2 separate regions of the Homo sapiens genome follow, and region 2 is linked to region 1. The links are contacts of gene promoters, found by promoter capture Hi-C in blood cells and fetal thymus (Javierre and others, 2016). All regions are on one chromosome and are shown on one strand. Each heading gives the region's core, a stretch centred on a gene start or on the middle of the fragment in contact. The rest is flanking DNA. Distances are from core to core; before and after follow the strand shown.

Region 1 (6,605 bases), core at 1,842-4,341:
ACAATGAGAAATTTGATTATGTCTCCTATCCATCTTAGCTGAAGAAAACCCCAAAATACAGTCATAAGAATAGTAAGTATCTTATTTTGTAGAAGAAGTTTTTCTGGTTTTGTGTTTTTGTGCAGAGGAGGTAGAAAAAGAAAAGAAAAAGTGAATATCATTTCTGAATCTGCCTACATTCCCTGAAACATTTAGGAATTTATGAATTCATGAATCTTGTCTATTCTCTGAAATCTTGTAGAAGAGCCTGACCTCCTACAGCTATATCAATATAAGCGACTGAAGGGCAGAGAGTGGTCCTGCTTTTCTTTTTTCAATATTATTGTATTCCCAGAGCCATTTAGTAGGTGTTCAATAATTTTTTTGATTACTAAAATGATGAATGCATGGCTGCTCGGAAGACAGAGCAGGCTCTCTCTTGGGTAAGGAGTACATAGAAAAATAAATGTGGGTTCTTAAAATTCTTAAAAGGCACAAGACTTCCAGGGAACACTCCAACTAAAAAATAAATAAAACCAATCTAATACATGTTACTTGGCCAAAGAATTCTAGCATCCTGACATTTTTGTGGGCTTCCAGAAGGAGCAATTGGTTCAGTCACATCTGTAACCCCTCCATCACATAGAACAAAAAGGATATATAACTTCCTGATTTTAAAACACAATTCCAACTAACCCTTTCAGGACATTGGGTTCTAATTGAAGGTCTTGAACTACGAATCCAAATACCCTGATAAAGTTAATAAACAACCAGAATATTTAATTACTGTATCATCGTTTGTGTCTCTTTCAGTTTCAAGGGACAGCAAATGCAGTCCAAGCTGCCTTAAGACAAAAGTGAATGTGGCCAGTCGCGGTGGCTCAAGTCTGTAATCCCAGCACTTTGGGATGCCGAGGTGGGCGGATCTCGAGGTCAGTAAATCGAGACCATCCTGGCTTACACGGTGAAACCCCGTCTCTACCAAAATACAAAAAATTATCCGGGCCTGGTGGCGGGCTCCTATAGTCCCAGCTACTCGGGAGGCTGAGGCAGGAGAATGGTGGGAACCCGGGAGACGTAGCTTGCAGTGAGCTGAGATCACGCCACTGCACTCCAGCCTGGGCGACAGAGCGCGACTCCGAATCAAAAAAAAAAGTGAATGTATTTGTTTATGAATGAAAATATCCAGAGATAGAACTTATTTCAGCTACAGCTCGATTCCAAGCTCGAAAATCTCCATCTGGGTTTCACTTTTCTCCAACTCTCAGTTCTGCCTTCCTGAGTATCAGCTTTATTTTCAGACTTCAAGCTCTAAGCTCACATCTTCATTATGCAAAGTCCAGTAGAAGAGAGTCCACTTTCTTAAGAGAGGAAGGAAAAAAAAAAGTCCCAGAATGGTGGTTTTTTTCTGTTTTTCTCTCTGATTGGCCAGACCTGGGTTACATACCTACCCATGCTACCAGGACAGAAAGCCATCACTGGCCAGACCTGAGCTGTGGGTCTACCAGTGAGTCAGCAGCGGCTGACATCACCTAAAGCAAATGGGCTGCGGGGTGAGATCAAGTGGTTGGATCTTCCAAAATGAACAGGAGTACTGTTTCAACAAGAGTGAGTGCTGGGAAGCAAAACCACAAATGGCCAATACAAAGTATCATTAGTAGACCCCACTTAATACAATTCACATGTTAGTGGAACCAAATGAAATTTTTAAAAATATATATCATTCGATTCACACTTCTAATCAAACTATAGTTCTGGAGAGGGTAACCTCACACCTTGAATCCAAAATATCTCTTCAGTTGCTGGCCTTCCACTTGTCTTCAGGAGCTGAAACACATGGCATTTGAAAAAAACTGGCGAACAGAGGAAACTCTTGCAGCCTCGCAGCCGCCCTGGTCCAGTGCCAACGGCAGGAGCACCACAGGAAGGGACCGCGCGGGTGCGCCCCACCCTTCCAGCGTCGCCTCGGGGACTCGCACCCCTTTCCCTGGCCGCACAAGACGTTTCATCCTTGGCGGCCGCCGCCAACCCGCCGGGAGGGGCGGTCGGAACTGGCAGGCCGGGGCGGAACCCCCGGGGTCTCCTTGTCGAGGCCCGGGCAGCCAGATCCTCAGGGCCGGTCCGGGCGGGAGCCCGGTCGATGGAGGCGGCTCCCGTCCTCAGCTCCCGCTCCCTCCCCTTCCCCGGGGCGGGCGCGCGCGGGCCGGGAGCTGGGAGGCGGCGGCTCCCGCCCGGGAGGCGGTGGCGAGGGCGGCGGAGGCGCGGCCGGGCGGGTCCCAGGGCCGTGGTTCTCCAGCGCAGGAGTCCCCGGCGCACCCGCTGCGCTCGCCCCGCAGCCGCAGCCTGAGCGGCCGAAGTCGCCACCAGCTGTGTCCGCGCAGATCCCGGGCGCGGAGGGGAGAGGTCGCCCGCTTGTCGCCCCCGCCGGACCCCGGGCACCGCGTAGCACCCAAGCGCCACCCGGACGAGGGGCCCTGGGGAGCGGCTGAGGCCGAAGACCCGAGGGAAGGAGGAGCCCGCGGACGGCTGCAGCCCCAGGTAATCTCCATGGAGGACGGGGCCGGTCTCCTCGCCCAGAAACCCGATCCGGGCGCCTTGGAATGCGGACTCCAGAGGCGGCATCTCGACCAGACAAGTTTCTCGCGGCTTGGAATGAGGGAGTCCTGAAACCGACACTCGTTTTATTTAACCAGCTTTTTTCTCCTGTTTTAAATAAGTTTATTTAGACAATGGAAAGAAAAAAACAAACAGCCTCTTGAGTGACTGTGGGTTTGTAAATATAATCCTAAAAGTTTTTCATGGTGTGGTTATTTGCTTGCTCATATTTATTAACCTGTTAACTCTTCCGCTAGTCAGAAAATTGACATGTAAAATATTCTTTGAGGAACGTTACAAGTTTGCTGTTGTATTCGGGCATCCTGTTATTCATCAGCTTAGTTAGCATCTGTCTTCCCCCGAAGTGGTACCAAAGCCGGTCCCTTGGCGACGGGTCTTGCATGTGACACTCTTGCCCTCTAGTGCCTCACCAGCTTGGTAGCAGTTTGATGGCTAATATTAATAAGATGTTACATAACATGAGAGTACTGGGCCAGGACTGGTGTTGCTACCACTTGTAAAGTCAAAAAGCCTGAGCCGATGGTAACGAGTGGTACTGTTTCCGTTTCTTTTCCATCTATTGCAACTTTCTCAAGCATTTTCAGCTCTGAACTTTAATTCCAGGTAAGTGTATTTATTTATTTATACTGTGCATTAATGCCTCACTCATAAATGTAGGGGCTTTTAAGAGATAACAACTTTGCTTTCAAATAATCTAAAAATTTCAAGATTGAACAAGTGCTTCATTTTATTCTTGAAGAAGAAATATAGAGTATTTTGATTAAATTAAGTGAAACAAAGGACCGTCTCATTCAGGGATGATTTTAAAGCTTCCCTTTCATAAGATTATGGTACTAAAGAAATGACCTCTTGTAATTGTTTAAGATATTCACCAACTTATAATGATTCTGAAGTAGATCTGTTTAACAGAACACATGTCTGTTGCCTTGACAGAATTTTGTAAGGAATATCAGAGACTTTAAACTACCTGCCTATCTACACAGTAATGATCCTCAAAAGGCTTTCTATTTGATGCAGTTTATAGACATTATTTAAAACTATACAATTAATAAAATTAAATGGAAATGGAAAGAATCAATCTAGGTATCAAATACAGAAACTTTAAATTTAAAGAAAACAGATATATCTTCTATTTAATATATCCATTTTGTGGGGGCAGGTAAAAGCAAAGTTACATCTTTAAGGGGTTTACTCAGATCCTTTTTCAAATAGTTTTTCTAATAGCTGGATACTGTTTAAGCATCAGAGTTATTTAATGTCGAAAATGTATTAGTATCTATATTCTTTATAAACATATTGAAATATAGCAACATGTAATCTGGAAGAGTTTAGAAGAAAACCCTTCTAGACAATGCAAACAGCTACATTCTTAATACATTTGTATTAAATTAAAATACAAATCAAATATTGAGATGTGTGCAACTGATCTGGGACACACACTTTTTTTTTGTTTTTTTTTTTTGCCCTTAGAAAATTTCATGTTATCAACTACTGAGCAATGCTGTTCACCACCAGAGAGCAGGATGATATGGCAGAGAAACTCTAGAATATCCGATATTCAGCTGAAGGGAATTTTTTTCCCTTTTTCTTCATCCATACCTTCCTATCAATATTATATTTAAGATGGAGATTTCAAATATAAGTTTGAAGGAGGCTCCTTTTTAAAATAGTACTGAACATATAAAGAGGCTTGCCTAAGATAAGCTCTTTTTTTTCTTTCTCTGGTTAACACAGTATCTACCATTTCTAATTTTGTTATCATTTTTCTTTATCATCTTGATGGTAAAACAGAAGATTTGTTTCTTTGTGTAAATAATGTTAATTTTGAGCTTGTCACATGAGTTAATTTTCTTCATAGTCTTTAAAATGAAGAATTCTTACATTACTAAAATGTTTTAGATAAAATAAAACTTTTATCTCTTTCTGGAGATATTTGTTATAGTTTAGTTTGGTGGAGTTATATATACCCTCTTTTTAAATTAATTTTCTTGAGAAAAGCATTATTTCTGAACATTGAGGCAAATATTAATTTTTGGTGTAACTGAAAAGTTTGTTAAAAAATATATAGTAGAAGAGATAATCAGGCATTGGAGATTCTTTTTCTAAACCATATATTCTGCTAAAGAAGTTATTATAAGCTAAAATGTAAATATGTAATTGTCTACCTGTCATTTCAAAATTTTAAAACTGTAAAGAAATTACAATTTTTTTTCTTTTAATCTTGGGACTCTGATTATATGACTTCCTTGAAACCTGATTGAGTTTCAGCTGCTTTTTGGTGATTAGAGCCTTAAAAGTGCATTTGTTAAGATGCAAAATATATTTTTTTAAACTATATGTAAATACTTTGTGATTTATATACACTATAAAATCAGGGAAATTGAATTAAGGATAAAAACACTATTCTCAACTAAATGAATGCCTTGAATTTCTAATTGCTTAACAGTTCTGACAGTAAGGGAAAACAGTAGAAGTTTACTTTCCCTGTGCTGTGTCTATTATAAATGAGCATTCACACTGAAATGCATGAACTCTGAACACCTGTCCAGATTAGGAATGCTGCCAGGCCACAAAAGTAACGACCTACATTATAAAGATAATTAGTCTGAACAATCCTCAAAACTATTTCATGACTGAAGTTTCTCGTAAAGGGGTGATTTTAATATTTCTTGGTTTGTCTGTTTGTTTATAGTAAAAAACTATACTCTTAGATACCTGGATATCACAGTGAGTGATTTATTCTTTCATGTTACTCTAAACATTTTCATCGATTTCATGTAAGTTACAGGACAAGAAAAAAAAAGTAGTCAGGACCTACTACAATTAATTAATGTCTATAAGAAATTATTTCCCCAAATCTTCTACAAATTACTGAGGGCTATAATTCTTGATTACCTGTTGCCAAATAAGAGCTTAAAAATCAATTATTGCAGTCCTATCCTAAAACCTTTAAGCATCTCAATTATGGGTATCCATTTTACATGTGTTTCATTGCTGAATTTTTTTTTTCATTAAAATATTTGAAAATAACATGAAAGTAGACCTAAATTCTAGGACTGGCTCTGCCAAGACAGGAGTGGCCTTGAACAGCTCCCTTGCTGGCTCTGGGGCTTGGTTTCTTCACCTGAAAAATGAGGATTCCAGAGACCCTTTTTTATCCTGTTTGTTCAACATTTTAGAAATTGATCTGGAGGCCAGGACGAAGATAGATGAGAAAACATCAGTGAATAATACAAAATTTAACTTGGTGATAAGTACTATTGTCTAGATTTCTGCTAAGTAGAGATGTTACAGTTTTTACTCATAGAATAGTTACCTTGTACCAGGCACTGTTCTACTTTACATATTAATTTTTAGCTCATATAATCTTCACAAAGATTATTTAAGGTAAATATTATTCCTGTTTCACAAATGAGGAAATTGAGGCACTGAGCGGTTACCTACCTGCCTAAGATCACATCCCTGGCAAGTGCTGAAGCTGGTATGCAGTTTGAGTCCGGCTCCAGCACACATTCCTTTAACCGTTATACTACATTGTCTCTCTATAGGTTTCAAATATTTGTTCTTGATATGCCTCTTGATGGAACAGAGGTAATCCATATACCACTCCAACAATTTCCATCACTTCCCTTACATATGAAATACTCATTCATTCACCCAGGAGGTATTTACTAAGCATCTACTTTTGCACCAGGCATAAAGGAGTCCACAGGACAATTAAATGTGGTGCCTTCCCTAGCTAAGTATATACAGTCTAGTTCAGGTGATTTCTTTCTCCTCTTTTGCTACTGCTGTTAGGTTGAGTCTCACTTGTTCTAAAATGTGCCCAAGGTAACAGAAGAATAATTTACCTGACGCCTTTATTGATGTGTCCATAGAATAGAGAGTAATAGAACCTTCAACCTCCTCAAGACTCCCTATATCATATTTTTTCATTATTCGTTTCTACTCTTTTTGCATCATCTTCTCTCTGCAGATTGGCTGTCTTTCCTTATCTGGTTCATGTAACC
Region 2 (6,605 bases), core at 1,785-4,284, 230 kb after region 1:
AGTCCCATCGACCGCCCAAGGGCTGAGGAGTACGGGCGCACTACGCGGGACTGGCGGGCAGCTCCACCTGCGGTCCAGGTACAGGATCCACTGGGTGAAGTCAGCTGGACTCCTGAGTCTAGTGGGGACTTGGAGAACCTTTCTGTCTAGCTAAGGGATTGTAAATACACCAATCAGCGCCCTGTGTCTAGCTCAAGGTTTGTAAACACACCAATCAGCACCCTGTGTCTAGCTCAAGGTTTGTAAACACACCAATCAGCACCCTGTGTCTAGCTCAAGGTTTGTAAATGCACCAATCAGTGCTCTGTGTCTAGCTAATCTAGTAGGGACTTGGAGAACTTTTGTGTCTAGCTCAAGGATTGTAAACGCACCAGTCAGCACCCTGTCAAAACGGACCAATCAGCTCTCTGTAAAATGGACCGATCAGCAGGATGTGAGTGGGGCCAGATAAGGGAATAAAAGCAGACTGCCCTAGCCAGCAGTGGCAGCCTGCTTGTTTGGGTCTTCTTCCACGCTGTGGAAGCTTTGTTCTTTTGCTCTTTGCAGTTACTCTTACTGCTGCTCACTCTTTGAGTCCACACTGTGTTTATGAGCTGTAACTCTCACCATGAAGGTCTGCAGCTTCACTCCTGAAACCAGCAAGACCACGAACCCACCAGAAGGAAAAAACAAGCTGCGAGACCAGGAAGAAACTCCGAACACATCCGAACATCAGAAGGAACAAACTCTGCACACGCTGCCTTTAAGAACTGTAACACCCACCGGGAGGGTCCGTGGCTTTGTTCTTGAAGTCAGTGAGACCAAGAACCCACCAAGTCCGGACATAATCCTTTTACAAATTAAATCAAAGCACTTTAATTCCTGCAATAGCTCTACTTTTTATGCTACGGTCCTTATAGTGGCCTGCAAGGCCTTACATGATGTGGTATTCATCACCTTTCTAACCGCAGCTCCTCTTTTCAAACTCTCATTCTGCAACAGTTGCACTGGCTCCCTTGCTGACTATCTTATTTAAGACATTCATGTTAACATGCCCACAAATATCAACGTGGCTAACTTCTACACTGTAGTTCAGTCTTTGCTCAGATGTCATTTTCTCAATAAGGCCTACCCTGACAACCTTACATAAAATTTCACCCCTTCCTCCCTTCCCTGACTCCTGATTCCTATTACTCCGAACTAATCTTTTTTGAACCATAGCACTTAAAATCTTATAACTAATTCTGTAGTTTACCAATTTTATTAGATCTTTTGTCTTCTCCTACTTGAATAAGCTTCTCGAAAGCAAACTATTTGTCTTTTCTTTCATCAATATATCCCCACATCGATGGGTCTAGTCTCTGAAATAATAAGTGCTCAATAAATACTTGTTGAATTAATTTCACAATAAGTAACTGGAAAAGACATGACAGTTTTAACATACATATGTTCTTATATTTAAGTGCTAGAAAAAAGTATAACTTTTCATAAAAATCAATAAATTCGATTAACAAAAATATATATTTCCCCAATCATACAAAGACTTAAAACTGTCTTCTAAATAACAAAAAATAAATTCAATTTTAAATAATAATTAAAATTAGCAAAATAATTATTAAATGTAGGACAAAAAAACAAAACCTCTAACTTTTAAATGATAATTACCAGATAATTCTTATAAGTTATCCTAACAATAATACCAAAAGGAAGATACTGCTGGTTTCCTTCTACAGATGAGGAAACAGGTTTGGAATGGATAGATAATTTTCCCAAGGTCACACAAGTAGCAAAGCTCAGACTTATTTTATACCTAGTATCATTTTTCTCCCTTTACACACAACACCAGTTAAGAGCATGGGCTCTGAGCCAGTGAGACTACATTCAAATCCACTTCAAACCTTAGGTTAATTACATTATTTCTCTGTGCCTCAATCTATTCATCTGTAAATTAGAGACAATAATTGTATAGCGCTCATACAATTGTTAGGATTAAATGAGTTAATGAGCACATAAGTACTCAATAAACATTAGTTATCACCATTACTACTATCTCCCTTAGAGACTGTAAATAATTGTAGTCAGGTGCAGTGGCTCACACCTGTAATCCCAGCACTTTGGAAGGCTGAGGTGAGCAGATCACCTGAAGTCAGGAGTTGGAGACCAGCCTATCCAACATGGCGAAATCCCGTCTCTACTAAAAGTACAAAAATTAGCCAGGCGTGGTGGCGTACGCCTGTAATCCCAGCTACTTGGGAGGCTGGGGCAGGAGAATCACTTGAACTCTGGAGACGGAGGTTGCAGTAAGCCGAAATCTGCCACTGCACTCCAGCCTGAGCGTCAGAACAAGACTCTCAAAAAAAAAAAAAAGATACTGTAAATAATTATTTTCAGAACCCTTTTGTGTTATTTTATATAATTTACTTTCTTAGTCCTTTTCAGTAAGTTCTGTTCAGTGCTATAAAGAATGGTGGGTATTTCAAAATTCGTATGGCTTTTATCAAATTTAAGTCCTCAATTGCAGAGATTTCTTTCTAGACCTTCTGTTTTCTAAGAAATACTGCCCATTTACATAAATTATCATCCTGATAAAAGGGTTTTAAATTAGAGAAATACAAAAGTCACTTATCTGGTTCTATTCTACTTAGTTTTCTATAGTTTTACTTATATAATTAAGAAATAACTACTAACACGTCTTACATATTCAGTTGAAGGTTTTTTTAATGATTGTTCATTTGGAGATGAAATATATTTATTTTTCTCTCTATAGTGTAAGTATGACATTTATTTTAAACTTTTTGTTTGAAATTTTACAAAGATGGCAGAAAACAAATCTATAGACCAATCATATTCCTGAATAAAGAGGCACAATTCTCAACGCAATGTTAGCATGCAGAATCCAGAAACAGGTTACAGGTAGAATACACGGTGACAGAGTGAACTTTAAAGAGTGAATATGGAAAGGCTGGTTGAGCACTGTCCAGGAAGGTGGAAATTAATCTATTCATTTATGACTTTTTAAATAGACCTTTTGAGGGTGTATGATTAGCTACTGTAAAACTCACCCAGGTGAAGTGTACATCTCATAACTGCTGAGTCATTAATGGAATTGAATAGCCATCATGGCGATCTGATGTCAGAAGATCTCTGACACCCAGATAGAAGGCTGATAGACGGGGTTCCTCATGCCCATTTGAAGATAAGCCCTGCCCCCAACCCAGCCCCAGTCAACCATTGATCTGTTTTCTGTCACTGTAAATTTGCCTTTTTTGAACATTTCATATCAATAGATTCATACAGTATGTAGTCTTTTGTGTCTGGCCTCTTTTCACTTAGTGACATGGTTCTGAGTTTCATCTATAGCATGTATCAGCCATAGCATGTTTTTTTAAAAAAACTTTTATGTTAAATTCAGGGGTATATGTGCAAGATGTGCAGGTTTGTTACAAAGGTAAATGTGTTTCATGGGAGTTTGTTGTACAGATTATTTCATCACCCAGGTACTAAGCCTACTACCCAATAGTAATTTTTCCTGATCCTCTCTCTCCTCCCACCCTCCGCCCTCAGGTAGGCCCAGTGTGTACTGTTCTTCTCTATGTGTCTATGTGCTCTCATCATTTAACTTAAATTGGATTTATTCTTATATAGCATCTGAAGTCTTTTATTTTACGTTTTTGATTTTCTATTTTTTTGGAGATGCAGTCTCACTCTGTCACCCAGGCTGCAGTGCAGTGGCACAATCTCGGCTCACTGCAACCTCCACCTCCCAGGTTCAAGTGATTCTCGTGACTCAGCCTCCTGAGTAGCTGGGATTACAGGCACCTGCCACCACGCCTGGCTAATTTTTGTATTTTTTGGTAGAGACAGTGAAGACCTATTCCAGTTATAAATACTAACTAATAGGAATTAGTTTCAAAGTTTGCCATAGAATTTTTCTCTCTGAAATGATTTCCATTATAAAATTTGAAATATAGTCCTATTGCAGCGGGGAGACTTAATTTAAACTTTTTGGCAAAGAGAGAGGTAAGATGTGCCTGAGGCCAAAAGAGTTAGTCGACTTTGCCGTAATATACTAAGCTACATTCAAAAAAGTTTGCCAGTTTTGCTTAAATGTACTACCCTGCATTCATTTTTCCTTCTGTACATTATGTATAATTTCCCAGAATTCTTTTTCACTTTTATCATCCTGGCTTCCTCATTCAACAAACGTTTCATTGAGCATGTTCCAAAGTACTACTGCAGGTAAGATGAATATGACTACATTCTTGCCCTCCAGTAGACTGGGCAGAAATATTTTATTTCTCCAACAGAATCATTGTCTAGTTTGATATACAACACATTAACAGTGTATTAACTACTTCAGACAGTAGGAAATGAATTAAATCTCTAATTGATGAATTCAGTATGTTAAAAATCTGTATATCAAGTTCACATATTAAAAAGGTCTGGTGTATTCCAATGGTATGTTTAGAATATGCATCTGGAGAAAGTTGTTCCTTTCTGGTAGAACCTGAAGTTTTCAATATTCACTGTAGACATTCATCATATAAAACTAGAGTCCAGAGGATAGGCTTTTAGAGATACTAGATATGCTGACATTTTCATGTTATTATCCACATATACATTAATACATGCATGCACAATGAACAAATGTATTTAATTCAAAGGGCTTTAAACACATACCTAAATAATAAGGTAACAAATTCAAAGGGATTTAAACATATACCTAAATAATAGTGTAACAGAGCCATCTAGTGGCCACATAAAAACTGTTGTTTCATGTGATTTTGTTTCGTTCCATCAAGTTTTACATAAACGTAAGCTTATCTTCCCACTAATACAGATATTTATAATGCTTATGGATAATGGGCCAAAGTAATTTGGAGCTGGGGTACTAGAGTAAATGTTTGACATCCTAAGACATCTGTAATCTATATTGTGTGTAGAAAAAGGAGAATTTTAACAAGTGATCATTAAATTTTCAAATTATCTTAATTGATATGGGATGAAAGCATTAGATGTTTTTAAATTGTTAGTTTATGAATACTCCAAAACAAGATCTTCTCTTTTAATATGCCATATTAAATGTTAAAATAAATAACACTCTTATTTTGCATAAAGGCAAGTAAGCCCAAAAAAAAAAAAAAAGCCTCACTAGGAAATAGACTAAAGCAAGTACCACAAGCCATCTTCGAAAGAAAGAAAAAGTCAAGCTTTTGAGATGTTAAATATTTAATGAAACATAAGTGCAGAATCTCACTGACGTGCAAGCTTCTACAACCAAGTCAGGCGTTCACTCTTAAAGTGCTGGAGGCCAGTTTGAGATCATAGAACACATAGGCAATCCAATTTTTCAGGCTAAACCATAAAAGGCTCACAATGTTGCTTGCCAAACTTTTCAATAAATTTATATTATAAATGTTTCACAATGTCAAACACTTACTCTAAAATCCCAGCTCCAAAATTCTTGGATCACCATCACCTCAAAATTCATGGATCCAACTTAAACCACATTATCAATGTCCCTCACTGTTCTCAAGTATTAGCATCTCTTCTTGTCTAACTTAAATGTCATGGTAAATCAATATAACCAGTCCCTTGCATGCATTCCTTTTCCCTTCTATCACTTTGCTCACTCTCTTGGCAAACTGCAACTTGGTTAACTCCAACTCCCTGTCAGCTCCATACCAGCACCTATGCAGTTGAGCATGATGAAGAGAAAATACACAATCATGCTAGAGATTTGACTTTGAATTCATTACAAGAACTCAAGTGAGCTCCTAATGTGACCGGGGAAACCCACTACTTTTCCAAGTCTATTGATGCCATCTCCTAATTATATTTTTTCCTCTCTCCTCAAATTTCCAACACTCTCTCCCCGATCCTCACTCTCGGTTGATGGCCTGGTTTCCTATTACCCCGGAAAAAAACATTAGTAGATGAGAACATTCAAAGTTCACACCACCCACTCATCCACAAGCACCTGTACCCATGTACTCCTATTTCTATAGATGAACTGCCTAAACTATTATCTTAGGGTAACCCCTACTTTTGTGCACTAGATCCCATCTCATTTCCTAAGCAGTTCATCACATATCTGCTGCATCATCAGTTTTTCCATTTCTACTGGATCTTTCCCATCAGAATACAAACATACTTTAAGTTCTCCTATCCTTTAAAAATGACCCATTCTTGATCCCACATCCCTTTCCAGATATTGCTGCATTTTTCTTCCTCTTTACAGTGTAACTCTTCAAAATAGTTGTTCCGAATCCATGATTTCCAATACTTCTCCTGTTCTCTCTGAAATTACTCTCAACAAGGTCCCAAGTGACCCTCATATAGCTAACTCCAATGGTCATTTCTCAACTTCCATCCTACTTGTATCATAAACAATTGACCACTTTCTTTTGAAAAACTTTTTTGACTTTTAAGGTATCACACTCTGCTGGCTTTTCTCCTTAAATTACTTCTCAACATCCTTTGCAGGTTCCTACTGTTTTTCCTGGTAGATTAATATTGACAGGCTCCAAGGCTCAGTTTCTTATCCTATTTTCTTTTTTTCTTTCTTTTTTTTTTTTTAAGAGATGGGGTCTTGGTTTCATGCTCAGGCTGGAGTGCAGTGACAT

Evidence for each region. The method cuts DNA at HindIII sites, captures the fragments that hold promoters and counts their contacts. A CHiCAGO score of 5 or more calls a contact.
Region 2: a fragment that was not itself captured here is called in contact with the fragment with the promoter of NDST3 in region 1 in 2 of 17 cell types (megakaryocytes and erythroblasts); the score reaches 13.1 in megakaryocytes.

Annotation. Positions count from the first base shown.
Region 1 is chr4:118,031,395-118,037,999 of GRCh38, forward strand. NDST3 (N-deacetylase and N-sulfotransferase 3) reads left to right here and starts at 3,092. Exons shown (of 14, transcript NM_004784.3): 1 at 3,092-3,198. The HindIII fragment of the contact is 5,573 bases long and covers 1-3,402 here.
Region 2 is chr4:118,265,905-118,272,509 of GRCh38, forward strand. LOC105377392 (a long non-coding RNA gene) reads right to left here and starts at 129. Exons shown (of 3, transcript XR_939113.3): 1 at 1-129. It overlaps LOC124900765 (a long non-coding RNA gene), which reads left to right and starts at 47. Exons shown (of 2, transcript XR_007058244.1): 1 at 47-78; 2 at 547-867. The HindIII fragment of the contact is 3,524 bases long and covers 1,273-4,796 here.